7 separate regions of the Homo sapiens genome follow, and all the other regions are linked to region 4. The links are contacts of gene promoters, found by promoter capture Hi-C in blood cells and fetal thymus (Javierre and others, 2016). All regions are on one chromosome and are shown on one strand. Each heading gives the region's core, a stretch centred on a gene start or on the middle of the fragment in contact. The rest is flanking DNA. Distances are from core to core; before and after follow the strand shown. Region 1 holds the start of SMARCAD1 (SNF2 related chromatin remodeling ATPase with DExD box 1). Region 2 has its middle 2.6 kb from the start of CISD2. Region 3 overlaps CENPE (centromere protein E). Region 4 holds the start of EIF4E (eukaryotic translation initiation factor 4E). Region 5 overlaps UBE2D3 (ubiquitin conjugating enzyme E2 D3). Region 6 has its middle 4.6 kb from the start of BDH2. Region 7 overlaps PDLIM5 (PDZ and LIM domain 5).

What was found. The method cuts DNA at HindIII sites, captures the fragments that hold promoters and counts their contacts. A CHiCAGO score of 5 or more calls a contact.
Region 1: the fragment with the promoter of SMARCAD1 here is called in contact with the fragment with the promoter of EIF4E in region 4 in 9 of 17 cell types (total CD4 T cells, naive CD8 T cells, fetal thymus and 6 more); the score reaches 18.6 in total CD4 T cells.
Region 2: a fragment that was not itself captured here is called in contact with the fragment with the promoter of EIF4E in region 4 in 1 of 17 cell types (neutrophils); the score reaches 6.4 in neutrophils.
Region 3: a contact is called between a fragment that was not itself captured here and the fragment with the promoter of EIF4E in region 4, in 1 of 17 cell types (neutrophils). The highest score is 7.8, in neutrophils.
Region 5: a contact is called between a fragment that was not itself captured here and the fragment with the promoter of EIF4E in region 4, in 1 of 17 cell types (neutrophils). The highest score is 8.9, in neutrophils.
Region 6: a contact is called between a fragment that was not itself captured here and the fragment with the promoter of EIF4E in region 4, in 1 of 17 cell types (neutrophils). The highest score is 7.2, in neutrophils.
Region 7: a fragment that was not itself captured here is called in contact with the fragment with the promoter of EIF4E in region 4 in 2 of 17 cell types (naive CD8 T cells and M1 macrophages); the score reaches 5.5 in naive CD8 T cells.

Annotation. Positions count from the first base shown.
Region 1 is chr4:94,206,453-94,209,169 of GRCh38, forward strand. It overlaps SMARCAD1 (SNF2 related chromatin remodeling ATPase with DExD box 1), which reads left to right and starts at 1,413. Exons shown (of 24, transcript NM_020159.5): 1 at 1,413-1,618; 2 at 1,894-2,132. The coding sequence starts at 1,943. It overlaps SMARCAD1-DT (SMARCAD1 divergent transcript), which reads right to left and starts at 1,104. Exons shown (of 9, transcript NR_125922.1): 1 at 1,078-1,104. RefSeq lists enhancers at 1,032-1,391, 1,490-1,993. The HindIII fragment of the contact is 2,630 bases long and covers 854-2,717 here.
Region 2 is chr4:102,865,045-102,867,744 of GRCh38, forward strand. It overlaps a transcript of UBE2D3 not described here. Among named protein-coding and RNA genes, the nearest start is that of CISD2, 2.6 kb to the right of the region's middle. The HindIII fragment of the contact is 3,078 bases long and covers 1-2,700 here.
Region 3 is chr4:103,192,618-103,195,317 of GRCh38, forward strand. CENPE (centromere protein E) reads right to left here. Exons shown (of 49, transcript NM_001813.3): 5 at 2,497-2,616; 6 at 1,986-2,067; 7 at 1,757-1,824; 8 at 1,612-1,677. Among named protein-coding and RNA genes, the nearest start is that of CENPE, 4.4 kb to the right of the region's middle. The HindIII fragment of the contact is 3,593 bases long and covers 1-2,700 here.
Region 4 is chr4:98,927,802-98,930,501 of GRCh38, forward strand. It overlaps EIF4E (eukaryotic translation initiation factor 4E), which reads right to left and starts at 1,332. Exons shown (of 7, transcript NM_001968.5): 1 at 1,294-1,332. The coding sequence starts at 1,311. RefSeq lists an enhancer at 1,726-2,700. The HindIII fragment of the contact is 5,241 bases long and covers 1-2,700 here.
Region 5 is chr4:102,819,747-102,822,446 of GRCh38, forward strand. The region is part of intron 2 of UBE2D3 (ubiquitin conjugating enzyme E2 D3); the gene reads right to left. Among named protein-coding and RNA genes, the nearest start is that of UBE2D3, 6.5 kb to the right of the region's middle. The HindIII fragment of the contact is 2,485 bases long and covers 91-2,575 here.
Region 6 is chr4:103,103,101-103,105,800 of GRCh38, forward strand. No RefSeq gene overlaps it. Among named protein-coding and RNA genes, the nearest start is that of BDH2, 4.6 kb to the left of the region's middle. The HindIII fragment of the contact is 4,331 bases long and covers 1-2,700 here.
Region 7 is chr4:94,453,184-94,455,887 of GRCh38, forward strand. It overlaps PDLIM5 (PDZ and LIM domain 5), which reads left to right. Exons shown (of 13, transcript NM_006457.5): 2 at 2,064-2,201. The coding sequence starts at 2,106. Among named protein-coding and RNA genes, the nearest start is that of PDLIM5, 2.6 kb to the left of the region's middle. The HindIII fragment of the contact is 2,948 bases long and covers 1-2,704 here.

The DNA of each region.
Region 1 (2,717 bases), core at 163-2,662, 4.7 Mb before region 4:
AACGTATGAGAAACGGTAGAACGATGGCTACCAGAGGCTGGGAAGGGTAGTGTGGGGCGGGGGAGGACCCCGGTGGTCGGTGAGCATGGTTAATGGGTACGAAAATACAGTTTGAATGAATAAGATCTAGTATTTGATAGCACAATAGCATGACTACAGTCAACAACAATTTATTGTACTTTTTTTTTTGAGACAAGAGTCTTGCTTTGTTGCCCAGGGTGGAGTGCAGTGGAGTGATCTCGGCTAACTGCAACCTCCGCATCCCAGGTTCAAGCTATTCTCCTGCCTCAGCCTCCCGATTAGCTGAGATTACAGGCGCCCGCCACTACGCCCGGCTAATTTTTTGTATATTTAGCAGAGACGGAGTTTCACCATGTTGGCTAGGCTGGTCTCAAACTCCTGACCTTGTGATTCACCTGCCTCAGCCCCCCAAAGTGCTGGGATTACAGGCGTGAGCCACCACTCCCAGCTTATTGTACATTTTTAAATGACTAAAATAACTGGATTGTTTGAAACACAAAGGATAAATGCTTGTTATGGATACCCCACTTACCCTGATATGATTATTACACATTGCATGCCTGTATCAAAATATCTCATGTACCCTATAAATATGTACACCTACTATGTACCCGCAAACATTAAAAATTAAAATATTTTTAAAAAATTAATTAATTAATCAAATTCCATTCTAAGAACAATCAAGCCGAAAGTGAGGAATTACTTTAAATGCTTTGAAGCTCAGCATCCCGGGGTTCTTATCCGTCACTAATTACCTATACATTTGCAGGTCTCAGTTTCTTTGCTTTGTAAACATAGGCTTCTTGTAAGGATTGGGATTATACACTGAAAAAGCTTAGCACAGTATTATTACTATTATGCTATCTACATTATATTATAGGTGAAACACTACAGATTATAATACATACAATATATACTAATTGTATTATATATTGTTATTTTTTGTCATTATGCTATTTACTATTGTTCTATTTAATAACTCTCTAGATAATTTAACAGGACAAAGGTACAGAACAATCTGGCCCTTACAAGCCGGCGGAGACGGGTACGAATTACCATGACAACAGCGCGCGCCTCGACATTGTCGGCTCGCGCGTTGTTTGGGAAGAAAAAGCCTAGGCTGCGTGTTGCGTCATCATTACGCGCTCTTAAGGTTTCTCCGTGGTGTTTTGGAAGGTCCCGGCACGGCTACCGTCGCCCCACGCTAGGAAATTTTTTTTTTATTTTCAACCTTTGTTACATAGCACTGAGGCTACAAGATCGTAAGTACTGAGGGAAGAAAGAACAAGCGAGCGATTGAACGTTAAAAAGATGCCTTAGCATGCACTCCACCTCTGAACCTTCCTGTGTGTTCTTAATCCTATCAGCTTCCTCTCAGCTGGGATCGCGCCGCGTCAACTTCCGGGCGGATGCCCGCCAGCACGGCCTCCGCCGCTCCCCTTCTTTGGCCCCTTTGTGTCCCCGCAGTGTCGAGGCGCGGGCCCTGGCAGGTCCTTTCTCGAGGCAGGGGGCACGGTAGCACAGGGAGCTTCTCTTTGTGGGCGGGCGCGAGGCCCGCTAGGGGGTTATACTGGGGAACGTGCCTGCGCGTGCTTGGGTAAGAGGAGGTTGCATGAGGGTCAGCTCGTGGTTTCAGTAAGGAGGGGCGGGCGGGGGAGGCGGACGAAGGGGAGTGAAAAGCAATGGAAAATTTTAAAAGATACCCCCGTCCACCTTCTAATTGTTGCGGCCTAACAATGAAGCGCAGCCATAACAGTCCTGAGCCACTGGCATGTTTGCGGGCCCTTTATTGCCTTGGGAATAAACTGCTGTGGCATTGTATCGTATATTGTTTTCATGGCCTTTTTTCCTCTCTTTATTTTTCCCCTGCAGATAGTTCATTTAAAGCCCCCATCCCTGCAAGGTGGTGCTTTCTACCAATATGAATCTTTTCAACCTGGACCGTTTTCGCTTTGAGAAAAGGAATAAGATTGAGGAAGCGCCCGAAGCAACCCCTCAACCTTCCCAGCCTGGCCCTTCTTCACCAATTTCTCTTAGTGCTGAAGAGGAGAATGCTGAAGGGGAAGTTAGCAGGGCAAACACTCCTGATTCAGATATAACTGAAAAAACAGGTGAGTTACAATGTTAAAATTGATGTAACATCAAGGACAGTTTTTAAAAGATGAAAGGCAGAAGGGATTCTCATTTTTATTCTTGATGTCATATATATTGATGCATTGTCCTGCGGTGTGCCCTTTTAAATACAGCTTTGGGACTGCCATAAGCACCATGTACCCTCAACTGAGCATCCATCCATTGTCGCCTCACTTTTATATGAGTTCTTCGAATATGGCCCCATGGTGGAAGTTGAAATTAGAATTTAGGGCATCCATAGGTCAGAACGGTTGCTATTGGAAGAGCGATGTCAGTGATTCAGTCCTATGATAAACTTTGAGGCTATTTGGGCAGACATTTTCATTCATTCCAGTATTCCCTCAAAATATTGATCATCTACTGTGAGCTAGACATTGAGCAAGGTGCCTAAAGACAACCTCTGTACACAAGGGAAGATCAGATCACATCAAGTTCTTGCATCCACCTGACTTCCTGGATGTCCTCAGAATGCAAATGAGTAATTGGTATTCTTCATGGTGAATGAACATTTTTAACCTCATCAGCAGATTGTCAGAGACAAAAGTATTTGAGGATAAGCCAAA
Region 2 (2,700 bases), core at 1-2,500, 3.9 Mb after region 4:
AGAATATAAGTTTAAAACTTTTAGCAAAAACACAGGTGAATACCTTTGTGATTTAGGGGTAGAAAAAGATTTCTTAAACAAGACTCCCAGAACACAAATTGTAAAGAAAAAGATGAATAAATTTGACTACACCCAAACCAAATTTCAGTATAAAAACAGACATACACGGCCAGGCACGGTGGCTCACGCCTGTAATCCCAGCACTTTGGGAGGCAGAGGCAGGTGGATCATGAGGTCAGGAGTTCAAGACCAGCCTGGCAAATATGGTGAAACCTCGTCTCTACTAAAAATACAAAAATTAGCCGGGAGTGGTGGCGGGCGCCTGTAGTCCCAGCTACATGGAAGGCTGAGGCAGGAGGATCACTTGAACCTGGGAGGCAGAGGTTGTAGTGAGCTGAGATCGCGCCATTGCACTCCAGCCTGGGCAACAGAGACTCTGTCTCAACCAAAAAAAAAAAAAAAAAAGACATACACTAGGAGAAGATAAGCAACAGGAAAAGATAAGCAACCAATGTAACCAACAAGGTAATATTTTCCAGAAAACATGTACCAGTGAAACTGATGAACAAACCAATAGCACAGTGGGCAAAGATGTCAAGAGCAGACTAGTAGGCATTTGGAATTAGACTCCTAGAATTAAGATTAGCCTAAAGAAATCTGGGCTGGAAATAGAGATTTGGGCTATATCTTAACGATCATATTTGAATTTGGGGCACTGGATGACCTAATGGGAAAAAAACATGAAAGAAATAAAAGTCTTGGGCCTAGCTAGGACAGGCAGAAGATGAGTGATCCAAGCTCAAGTGCTTGAAAGTAAATAATGACTCCTTTAACTGTATTTACATATTTATCTTGAGTTTTCTGACCACAGTTTCTTTATGTCTTTTAAAGATGGAGTCTAAAAACACTATCGCATAAGGTGGTCAGATAAGCCTATTACATCTATTTAGAGCAATATTATCTTTAGACCATGTTTCATGTGCAGCCAAGAAGGCAGGGTTGTGGAAATGAAATACAAATATAAATGAAAACAGGATTTAAATTTTAAGTAAAGGGAATTTAAGAAAATATTCCTTTTAAGTGGATAATAAGGATTTTTAAATTGGTGGAGTTAGGAATTATCTCCTATTACACATTCGCATAGCTCATGTAATGCATCAGAATACCTAATATATGATCCACACCTTTTCTCTGAATTTCAAGGCCTCCCAAAAAAGTTTTATCCATATAGACTTGCATTCACTACATTTTTTCTACTTGAAAATAGCAAACCAGCTATTCACATAAACTGCTAAGAGGAAGTAAGCCAACCATAAAAAATTACATACTGTAAAATTACTTATATGTGAGGGTCAAAAACATGCACAGCAATACAGAATAGTAGTAATGGTGGTGGATGTGGTTGGAAGGGTCGCTTTTTAAAAACGCCTCTATTGAACATTCTGTATATTGATGTGGGTGGTGGTTACCTGGAACTGTACATTTGGCATTTGAGCATTTTACTATATCTTTAAATTGAGGTATGTATTTTTTAATTCTTTAAAGAAAAACTGCTTGGAGGTCTTATTCTTAATGCACAACAATCACAAACATTAAATTTATACAGTCCAGAGAATGTAAAGTTGCTTTAAAAAAATTCTTTCCTTTTCTCACTTTAAAATACCAAGGGGAAAAATTAAACTCAACACAGCACGTCTTGCCCTTGTCAAGATGACAGATCCTCTAAGAGAAGAAACGAATAGGTAATGGCCTTTTCCAGATTTTCTTTTCCTAATGTACCCCACTTCCAACCTACCCCTACCTCAACTAGGGTATCTAGTTGTACCCAAGGGTGCTTCTACATTAGATCCACAGAGATTAAAGATAACAGTTAACAGAATAGTCCAGAGGACAAGGATATTCAAGTTCCATCATCTTCAGGATAAAAAAGCTCCAGGGTTTACCTCCAAACTCTCTCTAAAGGAAATCCCATCAACCTTTTAAACATCACTTTGTATACACCATCTTCTATACTGCCCTAGCTCAAAAACATGAACCTGTATCTAAACGTGTTTGTAGAATTTCCATTGTAAGTTTTACTTTAACAATTTTGAACAATTATAATGATAGAAAATTATTTAATCTAGATTTTGGTCAACTCTATTACTGATATTCTTTTTTAGTGAAGGACAATCACAAACACTAAATTTATACAGTCCAGAGAATGAAAGATTGCTTTAAAAAATTCCTTCCTTTTCTCACTGTAAAATAAAAATACCAAGGGGAAAAATGGAAAGTATTTATTATAACTGGCTGTTACACTGTCATACACAATGAAATACTGGACCATTAGCAGTTCGTTATTATATGTTGTTAAGTGTAGAACTGTAAATAATGAGGCATATTATTAAGATATCACACACATTATCCAATCAGCAAGTGCACAACTTCGGACATTTTGACTTCAGCCAAAATATGAAACAAAGTCATAGCAAGAAAGTTATTTCAAGGGAGTGAAATTTTCTCCTCTTACCCTTCAAATCTTTTAGAGATATTAATAAAAACAACTATCCAGCCTGGGCGATATAATGGGACTCCATCTACATACACACAAAAATTTTTAAAATTCGTTGGGTGTGGCAGCACACGCCTGTAAACCCAGCTACTTGGAAGGCTGAGGCAGAAGGATCCCTTAAGCCGGAGTTAGAGTCTGCGGTGAGC
Region 3 (2,700 bases), core at 68-2,567, 4.3 Mb after region 4:
AGAAAGGCAGAAAAAGATGAGTCAAAATTGACTTAGGTTTCCAGCTTAGGCAGCTAGGATAATGCTGGTTTTACTGGAAATAAGGAATATTCACTATGGTAGGAAGAAAATAGTTTCGTTTTAGACATATTAAAGTTTGAGATAATGATGGGACACAATTATAACCATCTTTAGGAAGACATGAATTAGAATTCAGAGACTATAGGTAAAATATTTGGCAGTCATCAACATGGAAATGATGACAGAACATTTGAGAGCAAGAACTTGAGTAAGAAACGTCACAGAATACCTCCAAGTTTTTTTTTTTTTAATTATTTTTTTAGGAGGGTAGGGAAAAAGAAGCCAGGGTAGAAAACAGAGGAGTACAGCTAAGAGAAACTGGATATTATCATCCCACCAAGGCCAGGAGATAATCAGAAAAGAGCCACCTCTAAAGAGACAGAGATGACTCTTTAGAGACTTCTTTCCAAGAAGATTCTTAGAGTAAGTGGGTAGGCTGGAGGGTTGGAACAGATGGAACACAAATGACAGAGCATCACGTAACATGAGGAAAATCATCAAGTAGATCACTGAATATGCCAAGAGTATTAAAGCTAAATTATTAAAAGTTAAAATTATATGAAATATCACAGTCTTGGATGAGAAAACTAAAGAGGTTAGGGTTTGGTTTTTTATTGTTAAATTAAAACAAGATTAAAGTCTACTAAAATAAGTTATACAATTTTATAGCAAAATAGCTAAGGTGAAATTAGGATTGAATATTAAGTAATTAATAATCTAATTTTATAAAATCTGAAAATGAATAAACATATTATAGATTGCTTTTTTCCCTGAAGTTTTCTAATCAAATAATCTTAAATCATATCCCACATCAAGCTAAAGAATTTAGGCCCTAAAAATGCAGAATAAAGCAATATGGTAAAAGATAGAAAAGGAGCAAGAAAGAAACAGCAATAATTTAGTGTGGAAAGAAGGAAGTGAAGGTTTACTAATGTGGAATATAGGAATGTTTGCATAATGCATATATTCGCTTATTCAGCAAATCTATATTAGACATAAAATAGGTATAATGTGTTGGGGCTACCAGGATGAATGCAGTATCACTCCTCAATGGATTTACAGTCTAAAGTACTACGTTTACAATACAAAATATATTTTATTGTTGTACTTAAGTAAAACCTAAAGTAATGTGATTACTTTTTAACCATCCAACCTAGATTTTTGTTGATCACATAAGTCTAAATTACATTGGCTGAGATTTTACAAAAAGACCCTCAAATTCTAAGATGATCTAAAGTGTTAAATGTGTATAGAAAAAAATTCTACTGCATTAGTGGTTAGAAAAAACATCAATTCCTATAACCCTATAGCCCTGACATTTAAATTTTAGGAGATGGCAACCATGACATAACAGGAAGAAAGATCCTCTGAATTTTTCCTACGACATTTTAGCTAGGAATTTGATGATACTGACAAGACTAAGCAGACAATTTGTAGATTTCCTCCCACATTTAGTTTAGTTAACAGTTCTTATTAAACCAAACATCCAGCAACTAAATTAAATTTTGTTTTGGCCCATACAGTACATTATTATGGTTCATTAATACTCACCAAATGGGATACCTTAACAGATCCTTCACAATTAGAAGGTTCACCCTTCTCTCTGCTTTCCAAAATCTAGATAGAAAAGGCAAGCTGTAGAAAAATTAGTGCATTCTTACTTGGAAAGATCTAACAGATAGATAGAATTACCTACCATCCTAAAGATGGTATGAGAACGACTGCTTCTTTGATTCATTTTTGTTTCTCCATAATGCCTGCTCTCTGTAAAAATGAGTTATATTTCAGCTGCATATATAATAAAATCCATAGAAACACAATAATTTTTATTTTAACTTAAAAAAGTATGATTTGAGGTCCAAACGTGCTTGATTGAAAAGATAGTTTTTACAAGTGTTCTAAAGAAATACAGCATAAAGTCTTACTTTCTCCCTTTGTAATCCATTTCAAAGCCATTTCTGATGTATATACAACTTCTTCTGTGAGATCAGCAACATACACATTCCTCTGAAACAAGTTTAATTATGGAAAGATTAGAGAAATAGAAGTCACAAGTTTGCTTTTCAAAAGAAGGTGCAAACTATTATAGAATTCATTTGTGAAAGTTAAAAGTGGCAAATGGAACCATAATTCTGTAGGAATGTAACAAATAATTCTATGAATACCCACAATTTATTTCACATACCAAAGCACAACAAATTCTAACCTGATACTTCCAACTTGCTATTTTTACACTTAAACCAAAATATTAGAGCTGTCAGTATTTTAAAACTATTCATATTGTTTAAAAGATGAATATAAATACTTCAAAAAAACCCTCACATACTATAGAAATAGGAGACACTTTAAAAACTATAGAAATTAAAGGTAAACATTCAAGAACAATAATCTCAATAAGTCAGTCAATTTTAAAGCTCCCTTAAGTCTGCTACTCACATTGACATCTTCTCGAATAATTAAAGGTTTCATTTTTTGAGTGCCACAGAGTAAATCTGTAATGGTTTCATTGTATATTTCCATGTAAGATACACGTAAGAGAAATTCCCTATCAGGAAACTAGAAGAAAAAAAATTATATAAAAACACCAGGAAGCATCCAATTGTGAAAACCTAATGCTAAATGCTCATGTGCTTAAAGAGG
Region 4 (2,700 bases), core at 82-2,581:
GTTTTCTGATTGCTAATAAACCCCATTATGCACACAAGATATCTTCACTTAGCTGTGTCGTTTCTAAAAAGGCAACAGGGCCCAGAAGTTTCAGTGAGCCAGTCCTGGCAAACCCAAATTATGAAAAATATACCCTCTGCTTAAAGATTAACTACAAACCTACCCTGGGACCAGCTTGCTTCAGTTAAGTTTAAAATGGTGCCTAAATTGAAATGAAAGTCTGTAGCATAGATAAAGAGAAAAAAAAAGTCAAATGGAAAAGTAAATTTAAAAGTTTCTATTTCCAATAAACTGCGTCTCAGAAATCTTCCAGGAGATAAAGACTCGGAAGAACAGAGGGATTGAGACCCATTCGCATTCTCTGAGGCGTGCGCACTACGCGGAAAGGATGAATGAATGGAAGACGGGCGCGTGTGAAATGCAGCAGGTCCGGCCGGCAAGCCGACCGGCTACAGCGATCTGTAGGCCTCGCTCCTCCCCCTTCCCTCCTCCATGACAGCCCAGTCCCAAGCATGGAGGGGCGAGGACAATGTGATACCCCTTCTCACCACCACCATCCCTCATTCTACTTGGAGAGCTTCACCGTGACACACGAGTGTTCCTTCCCACCCCAGACCTTTCTCGCTTCCCCTGGCGCAAACACCGGCAACTCTCCGGCGCGCTGGATTAACAGACGCTCGCCCCTCTCAACTCCCCTAAGCGAGGTCGAAGCTCCTCCGCGCGTGCCGCGGCACCACTCCCGCCTAACCCACCCTCCGGCAACACTCGCCCACCAGCTCCCCAGTCCACCGGTCTAAGGAAGACGTGCGCGCGCCCCGCACCCGAGCCCCGGAGCTGGGGTTCTGCAGGGAGGGAAAGGCTGCTCCAGGGCTCCCTCCTCCATCTCACTCCAGGCCGGCTCGCCGCCCACCCTGCCTGCGGATCCCAGTACTCGCTGGGAGCCGGCCCTGCGCCTTCCTATCATGAAGACACCATCCTCGCATACCCAGCCCAGAACCCCAGCTACCCTCCACCCTGTAGACACCTCGCGGTTCCGCAGGAGGCGCCACGCCGCCCCTCCCCCACACCGCTCCCCCAGTTCTCGGGCCCCCACCAGAAAGTGTGCGCTACACGCCGCCTCGGCCATCCTCCGGGACGTCCCCACTTGTCCGCGGGAGGTCAGGTCCAACATGAAGGGGAAGGGGCGGCAAGGGGTACAGTGCGCGCCGGGAACGCCGTCCCGCGGAGTCCCCCAGTCAGAAGGAAGACGGAGCGCGGGGACCCGTGGGGGTGGGGGCCAAAGGCAATACTCACCGGTTCGACAGTCGCCATCTTAGATCGATCTGATCGCACAACCGCTCCAGAAGGGGGGGTAAGAGGAAAAAAATGAGATTCAAACCGGATTGGCCAGCTTCTGGCCACGTGACGGATATGTCCGTTTGGCCCTGGCGGCACCTGCGCAAGACTGCGGCTGCGTGAGTAACGAGAGGCTTCTGGGAAGTGGAGTCTCTCCCCCACCTTTTTTTTTTTTTTTTTTTTAAGGTAAAGAAATTTTTTTTAAAAAGGACTGGTCACGTGGCCGATGGGTAGGGTGCGCGGTTCTCAACGCGGCGGACACTCGCTTGCTGGAGGGTGGTTTCAGTCCTCTGCTCTTCCGCCTGGATAGCTGCGGTCACACTTACTGCCAGGCAAGCCTACTGTGCCCTTTGTCGCCCTGTCCTCCCATCTTCCCCGGAAGGTTGGGAACTGCAGGCTCAGCACACACAATAAGGCTTCATTTGCTTAGTTGAGGTCCCAGGACAAGTTGCCTGTGTGTTTATTTAGTTTTCTTTTGATCTCCCACCATTTTCTCTTAGTTTCAAAAAGAGGCGGCGATGCAGAGTCGTTTAGGCAATCAACCCTCCCACGTCCCCTGGCTCAGCTAATGCTGGTGGTCATTCGTTGCCATTTCTGCGAAAGGGGACGGACGGAACCGCCCGCAGTACCCGCTTGCCACCGGCTGGACGAGGGGGAGGGACGACAGCTTTTACTGTCCCAAATCCTGAGATTAAGACCTCAGGGCTAAATCTTGCGTGGCGGTAAAAATTATTTGGAAGTTCTGTGCAACCGTTCCAATATTCCGCTTTTACGTGCACGGAAATAGCCTAAGTCCAGATGCCAGCCAGGGAAGCCACTCCGGGCCCCGCTGACTAAGCCCTGGACTGATGGTCTGGAGTCTTTAGGCCGGGTCAACTATGACTCTTGACGTTGACTCATTCTCCTTAGGCGAGTGACTTAATCGCTCGGCGTCTCAGCTTTTTTATTTATGAACCAAAGGTGATGATACACTTACCTCACAAGGGTGTGCTTCGTAATGACTGTAACCGGCTTTGAAAATGCATCGGACTCTAGAAATGATTCATAATAAGCAACTGCGTGCCTTCCTAAAGATCAAGTGCTTCTGCTTTTTTTTTTTAGCAAAGTTTAAATTTTTTTCTGTTTACTTTGTTTGATTATGATGTACACCAGTGTAGTTTTAAATGTTCAGGACCATTTTTTTTCCTTTACAACTGCAGCTGCCCTCAATAGAGGCTTTAATGTTCATGAAATTATTGTTATGCTCACAACAATCACTGGCAATCAGAAATTTGTCCCCACACTGGCATCCTACATTTCCTTTCCCTCTAAGATACTGTGCTGTCATTTCTCAAGACCGTGTTTTTTGCACAGTTTGGCTACTAA
Region 5 (2,700 bases), core at 83-2,582, 3.9 Mb after region 4:
TATTTTGCACGTCATCACACAAAGGTCATACAGAGGACAGAACGCAGTAGTATAGATACATTTCCTCTCAGCACTTTCCGGAAAACTAAAAGCTTATGCCATTACTAAAGGTTAATTTCTTGTATTCTATTTGAGAGTCTATTTCTTTCAGAACTAAAGACAAGATTTACATGACTCAAAAGACAAGATTTGTATGACTGTGAATCAGCATTATAAAAACAGCCCTTGCCTCAAAAACCTATACTGAGCAACACAAAACACTGCTTTGGGGACTGGAAGAGATGATAAAATGAGGTGGGAAACAAAGGGAGTAAGTGCCTTAAGAAATTTTAAGAATCATCCTCAAGAAGACTTTACAACCAACCTAGAAAAATACAAAGGTGCGAACCAACAATAGAGGTCGAAGTGCAGTGCAATTAGCTGTCCATCAGGCAGACAGTAACTACTGTAACTGTTCATATAAAGATCTGGTTTACTATAAAGTTTTATTAACTTTAATGTTATGAAATGTCTGTATAAAATATGTAGATGCGAATATCAAGGCAGGGAACAACAAACTTCAGAAACATGGTTATTTCAAGAGAAGGATGCTTGGCAAAAAGATATGAACAATTTCACAAAACTCCAAATAGTCCCTTTAAAACACATTTTAATTTGAAATTTCTTCTGAGAAATCCTTTTTTATCTTAAGGTTTAACAGTAGGCACTGCACAGTATCTCACTGCATCACTGACAAGGTATTAACTTCCTGTTTAGTCGTAATTATAGGTGAAACAAGCATGCGTGTTCATTACACAAGGTACTAAGAATGGATTGAATATTACTAATTTTCTTTCGATCACCACTGAAGGTAAAGTCACTTAACATTATTCAAAGCCATTCTTTTGTAAGCATTATTTAAAAATGGGCAAAGAAACCCAAATTTAGATTTGAAGCTCTGCTCCATGAAAGCAAGAAGGGTGTTTTATGGACATTAAAACAAACAAAACAAACAAACAAACAAAAAAAACAAAGATTAACAGCCAAACAGCTGCCCAGTAGTAGAAAACATTCAATTACACATTAGCCATGAAATTACAGCAAGGTTAGGATTAATGTAAGTATTTCATACTGAAAAAGGTACAAGAAATCATGATTCACAATTGACAAACATTTAAATACGACAAATTCAGCTATGAAAAGTTGAAGGTCTCTTTTACAATAGATTATGTTGAAAGTATCATTAGGAGATAAAAATCAGATGTTTCAACAAAGTATAAAAATACTTCCCTAAACTTTTCCCTTCCCTACATAACAAGGTTGAGGATACAATTCTGAATAAATCTTATCTAATAAGAGAAACTGGGCAGTAAGATATTTGGTGAATGCATTCATTTTTAATTATGAAATAACACTGCTATGGTAGCAAGCTCAAGACCACAACATTTCCAAGAATGGAGAGTTTTATTTCATTAATTTCAAAATACTGGTTTTGGCAAGGGGAATTAAGTCATTATAATAAAAGACAAATCACATTGTAATAATACTAGTACAAAAAATACAGTATAGAAAATTTATTTTAAATACCTCCCCTACTAGATCTAATATTCTTGAAAGGTAAATTACAAAGTGACAAACAACTATTCATGTGTTTACATGCTTATTTTCACCACTGAACGCAGAGATTACCATAGATAAGGACCATCTTCCTCATTTATTCCCTGGGACTAGAATACTACGTCTAATGCAGATTAGGACCTTTACTCCCTTGTATCTGTGGTTCTTAATCAGAGAGGAGCTTCAGAATCACCTAGAAAATTTTCAAAATTATGTGTTTCCAGGGAAAATGATTTAGTAAGTCTAAGACCCCCATGCAGCTGTATTTTTTTTTTTAAATTCTAAACAATCTGACATTTAAAAATAAGTAAACAAGTATAACTGGATTGTAACACAAAGGATAAATGCTCGAGGTATATACCCCATTTACCCTGATGTGATTATGCATTGCATACCTGTATCAAAATATTTCATGCAACCCATAAATATATACACCAACTATGTACCCACAAAATTTTTTTAAAAACTCCAAATGTTCTGGAATATAAATGTAATTCATGTCACACCCAACAATATATAATATTCAGTAAGCTCTTCTATACGCTAACAGATACAAGAAAACTGCTATTTAAAAAAAGAATGCAAAAACCAACCTAGGTTTGAGATTTTAATCTGAAACATTTTTTTATCTCAGTGTTACGAACCTAGTTTCTTTTTTAATAGATAGATTATAGCAACATGCTGTGGAGAATCCTCAAAGATTGCCTGTCTTGGATAAAAAGGGTCACCTAAACTCAGGGGCAAAGTTTGACAGAGCAATCTAGTGACACAGTAGTTCATCCCAGTGATGGAGCATTCAACTTTTTATTTGTATAAATAACAAAAACTAGAATCAACACTGCAGATGAGCATGATGAAAGAAAAGTATGCAGTGTCAGTAATGCATCCTTTTTCAAATTAAACAAATACTGAGGTCCTATTATTATCAGCATCCTTCAGTCACAACTATCCTACACAGAAAGTGAGCTGGCTATCAACAAGCTTTGAGGACCATATATGAAACACATGCAAGACAGTTTACCCAGCCTATATACTAGTTGGGGACAATAAATATATTTTGTTCACTCTAAGACATCCTAAGCAGTTAACTGGCACATGTTAGTT
Region 6 (2,700 bases), core at 179-2,678, 4.2 Mb after region 4:
CAGTATGTAGCCTAGGCTGGTCTCAAACTCCTGGTCTCAAGTGCTCCTCCTGCCTCAGTTTCCCAAAGTGTTGAGATTACAGGGATGAGTCACTGCGCCCAGCCTGGCTCTCCTTTTAATAGTACAGAGAGCACTGATTGTCCAAGAAATGAACTGTTCATAGAGGTATGCAAAATGTCTGCATTGGATACTCCTAATCAACCACTTCTTAGAGGTGAGGAACTTAAGTGACTCTATATATAATACTTTTTTTTTTTTTTCCGAGACAGAGTCTTGCTCTGTCGCCCAGGCTGGAGTGCAGTGGCATGATCTCGGCTCACTGCAACCTCTGCCTCCTGGGTTCAAGCGATTCTTCTGCCTCAGCCTCTCGAATAGCTGGGATTACAGGCACACACCACCATGCCTGGCTAATTTTTGTATTCTAGTAGAGACGGGGTTTCACCATGTTGGCCACGCTGGTCTCAAACTCTTGACCTTGTGATCCGCCTGCCTCAGCCTCCCTAAGTGCTGGGATTACAGGTGTGAGCCACTGTGCCCGGCCCTATAATACTTTCAAATATTTATGGAAAACTAAGAAATATACCAATGTTGGTTGGTTGCTTCTAATATTGTTGGGCAAAATTATTTAAAAAAAAAAAGGATGACTTCAGGGATTCAAATTCATGGCTCAAGCTCCACATAAGTAACCTAAGAGCTTATAGGCGTGCCCTGAAAGAGGATCTTCTCTCCTGTAGACATGAGGCTAAAATTGCTGAAAATCAAACACCAGTCTTCATCATTTGATTGGTGCAATTACAAAAGGCCTCAGTGTGTCTACTGGTAAAATAAGCCACAGTGACTGGGAGAGTGAGATTCTATAAGTTGGGATGGGGACGTGTGGGAAGACCCTGAAGCCAGGAACATTGAGTTTTTTTTTTTTTTTTTTTTTTTCAGTTTCACCCTGTTGGCCAGGTTGGAGTGCAATGGCATGATCTCGGCTCACTACAACGTTGACTTCCAGGGCTCAAGTGATCCTCCCACCTCAGCACCCCCGAGTAGCTGAGACTATGGCCATAAGCCACCATGCCAGGCTAATTTTTGTATTTTTTGTAGAGACGGGGTTTCACTATGTTGCCCAGGCTGGTCACGAACTGCTAGGCTCAAGAGTCCCACACCTCAGCCTCCCAAAGTGCTGGGATTACAGGTGTGAGCCACCATGCCTGGCCAGTTCCTACATTCTGATGAGTTTTTTTTTTTACCAGCTGTAGTGGCCTCTCCAACCTCATTGGGGTTGGTAATGGCCTTTCCACCTTTGTCTGAAGGGTTAACCCTGCATTGCCTGAGGAAATAATAATGGCCTCCCCTGAGGCAGCTGCCAAGCAAGACAATGCTGATTCTCCTCAGGACCTACCCCCACCACCCCTCTATGCTCCTAGACCTATAACTAGACTCAAGTCCCAGCAGATCCCTAATGTGAGGTACAAAGTGTGGCCCATGAGGAGCTGCATCACAATCAAAAGAACCACTTGAGTTTTCTAACTTATATAAGCAGAAATCTGAGAAAAATGTGTGGGGATATTAAGGGTGTGGGATAATGGTGGCAGCAAAAGGGACAGAGCTTATTTGAAGAAATAATGGCCACAAACTTCCCAAATTTGAGGAATAAAATGGACACCCAAATTCAAAAGTTAAGCAATATTCTACTAGGCTGGCTACCTGACAACTAGATTTTTAATGGCTTTAATGTAGTTTTATCAATCAGGTAAACAACCACTACTTTGGGTTACTTTTGTTCAGTGGAGAAGCAGACATAAAGAATCAAACCTGCAGGCATGTTAGTGTTTTGTTTGGATAAGGGTGGAAAGCAGAAGACAGACTCTCAAGGTACAGGTCTGGGGGAAAAGATTTTAGGAAGGGATAGTTTCCCCTTAGTCTTTGTTAATTCCTTTGGTGGTATGTTAAGATACGGAGAAATATCCAATCCACAGACTTTGAAATACTAGATATGATGCAATCAATAATCTCTCCCTTTGAATGAATCTTACCAAAGAGCCGAGAATGACTTGAAATCACTTTACCTCTGTTCTATAACCTAATGCAACTTGTTTTAAGTGGTTTTTCAAAGTCATATGGTATAAAAGTAATATCAAATATCCTCTAAAACCATAGTTCTTAGATTTTTACAGGATCACGGGCCCCTCTAAGAATATGATAAAACAAAGTATAAACCCCAGTATCCCCTCCCCCCAAATAAATCCACACAAAAAAGTTCATAAAAAATTTCAAAAATTTTACAGATTACAAGAAGTCCATCCATATATGCTTTATCTATCTGTGGGGACTCCAGGTTTAGAAAACTTTACTTTGATAAAAACTCTGGTACTGTTTCCTTATGTCTACAATGAAGAGGTAGAATAAATGATCTATAGGTTCCTCCAGGCTGGGAGTGAGGGGCAATGAAAAACAAAGTCTATAATAAACCAACCAATTTAGAGAGTTTGTATAGGGATTGGGATAGGTAGGTTACCAGAAATGTGAGAAAGAACTTCTGTGGTTATTACAGTAAAAGGAATATTAGAACTGGAAAGTTAAGAGGACATAGCCTCTGCTATCCTTTAAGAATTTAAATCCAGATCCAGAAAACTTGTGTATATTTTCATAGCAAAATACTGAGTCAACAAGAGAGACTACCTCACCAAGAAACCATTAACATTATATAGA
Region 7 (2,704 bases), core at 133-2,632, 4.5 Mb before region 4:
TGTTTGAAAGAGTATGCTGCTATTTCCTGCCTGCTTGGTATTTGAGGAAGGGCTTGGGCACTAATAACCAGATGGAGGAGTCTTGGAAAGGCCAATAAAAATATTGCCATTGCTTGGGGCAGAGACTGTTTTAAGGCAGATGAATTCCAAATGAAGCTAGCAGAAGAAGCATCTAGAAATGAACGGACAGTGACTAGAAATGAAATGACACTGGTTTTGTAGTGTGGCTGTGACCTTGCCAGTGCTAGGAATTTTAATAACAAATGAGAGAAGTTAGGAAGGGAATCCCCAAGTAAAGGGAAGTTGCAAGTACATGGGTTGATAATCTAAATGAAATACATTTTCTTGTAGGGAAGAATGGGGCCAGAGGAAGTTGAGCCCAACTTTCATATTATTCCCCAGACACAAGTTAAAGATTAATAAAGGAGGGCAGGCTGCCTGTGAAATATCAGTTGGCTTTACACGATTCTGATTTGTATCGTGTCAATATCAGGACAGTCCTTCTATTAGTTTTCTGAAAATCTCCTCCTTTTATAGCGGGAAAGCAATTGAATTATGTGTGGCTCGTTATTAGCTTCCCACTAGTAGTTTTTCACCTATATATACAGTTTGACTTCCGGCTTGGCCTTTGGATCTTTTTTAGTGCTCTGTGCCTATTACTTCATTACTGAAGTAATGTGTTATTGCCTTGTAGTTCAGTATACTACCACGCCAGTAGAAAAGCTGTTTCGGTTTCTGATACAATTTTCTGTAATTTTTATTTTCCCTGATATAATTTTTCTTTAAAAACCAGGCTTATTTGAATGTTTTGCCCCATTTTCCCTTTATGAGAAGAAGGAATGTTTGCTTTAAATATACCTATGGCTCAAATATCTATATCTGCAACTATGAATTTGGGGTGATGGGCTAGAAATTTTGAATGGGTTAAAACATATTTTAAGACAGGTAATATTAGGTGGTGATTTGGTTGAATAGCTTACATTTTCCAAGGAAGTATGTTTTTAATATAAAATTACATATCTGTTATGTTTTTAATATTTTTTAAAGAGAGAGAATTATTGTTTCTTAGTATTCCATTAAAACAAAAGAAAACTTCATTCCTCTGTCTCCTGCCGTTATAACAACCAATAGGAAACTCGAAGTTTTTTTTTTTTTTTTTGCTTTTTAAAAATTATATGAAAGTACTACTAGGAGAGTCATCACACGCACACTTAACAGCAGAACAGACAAAAGAAAGCACCGAAGCACTGGTTCTTTTCTAAACTGCCAATTCCATTTGAATGCATTAACCCAGCACTTTTGCTGTATTTAGTCATAATCTTATTCACTGAGTGGCAAATGCTTACTCTCTGCCTGGTGAGGTGTGTGTATAAAACAAAAAGCAGGTTGTGACTAACATCACTGTACTAGAGTATTGCCTATCGTTGACTATCTGAAGGAAAAGTAGATATCACTTTAAGTGTGGAAAATACCATGTCCCCATAGGAGGAAATACAAGTTGTAGTTCATGATTGGAGAGAATAGTTTTGTGCATTGAAAAACAGCTTCTCATTGTAAAGAATTTAGTATTTGGAAAGCATGAATGGGAGCCTACTGATTTGCAGTCTCTTTCACATGTTAGAGTAACTTAGAATTTAAGTAAGTGCAGTTGAAAGACTCTTGTCAATTGCAGACAAAAGAATACATGAAGTGGAGGGAAGGAGAAAATTATTCTGAATTCAACCTGAAATAAAATCTTGCTACATTAGTGAAGTATTGTAAAGTACTTTGAGTTAAACTTTGCATGCAAGAAGCCACAAAATTGGATTGAAGCAAGTTGTGAAACATACTAAGTGTCTAGAAATGTATTCTGATATGGAATTTTTAGACCATGGAAATTGCCATGAGTGTAGAAAATTTATATTAGCTCACAGATTGCTTTTCTTAAACTGAAATTAATGAAGAACTTAATTAAGACTTATCTTCTATATCCTCTCACCCCCCTCAAACAAAATACTAAACATAATTTATGTTCTAGGGTTTCAAGTAAACATTTTTGCTAATCATCTGATTTTCTTTCACAGCATATTTCATTTTCTGTCATTGGACTTTGAGCCATTAGAACCATGAGCAACTACAGTGTGTCACTGGTTGGCCCAGCTCCTTGGGGTTTCCGGCTGCAGGGCGGTAAGGATTTCAACATGCCTCTGACAATCTCTAGTGTAAGTAAACTTTACAAATTTTATTATAGATGTTCATTCAGTGCTTAGTCCTCGGGCTGAGTTGTTTAATTCTCTGTTGACCTGTACTCTACTTATTATCATTGCTCCTGGGATTTGATCTTGGCAAATTTGATTATCTATAATAAAGGATGAGGGGAGTAGATTTAGCAAGGATAACTGACTTCAATTTAACTTCTTTTCGTTTTCCCCCATGTTATCAATAATAAAATGGAAAAAGCATTTAACTAGGAACAGACTGTACATTTTTGAACTGTCCCTAATTTGGGGAATTCTCTGAATCTTCGTTCTTTCATATATAATTTTCAAAGGTTGTGCTATGGGATTTTAATAATCTCTTTCAGTTCCAAAAGCTGTTTGTTAAAAACTGTTGATCAAAATTGAATAAAATGATTGTTTCGGAATTATTTCCTCAGCTCACTTTCTGGTGGAGGTGATAGCCAACAGTAAGATGGCCAAAAGCTACTTACCCTTGAAGAGGAAAT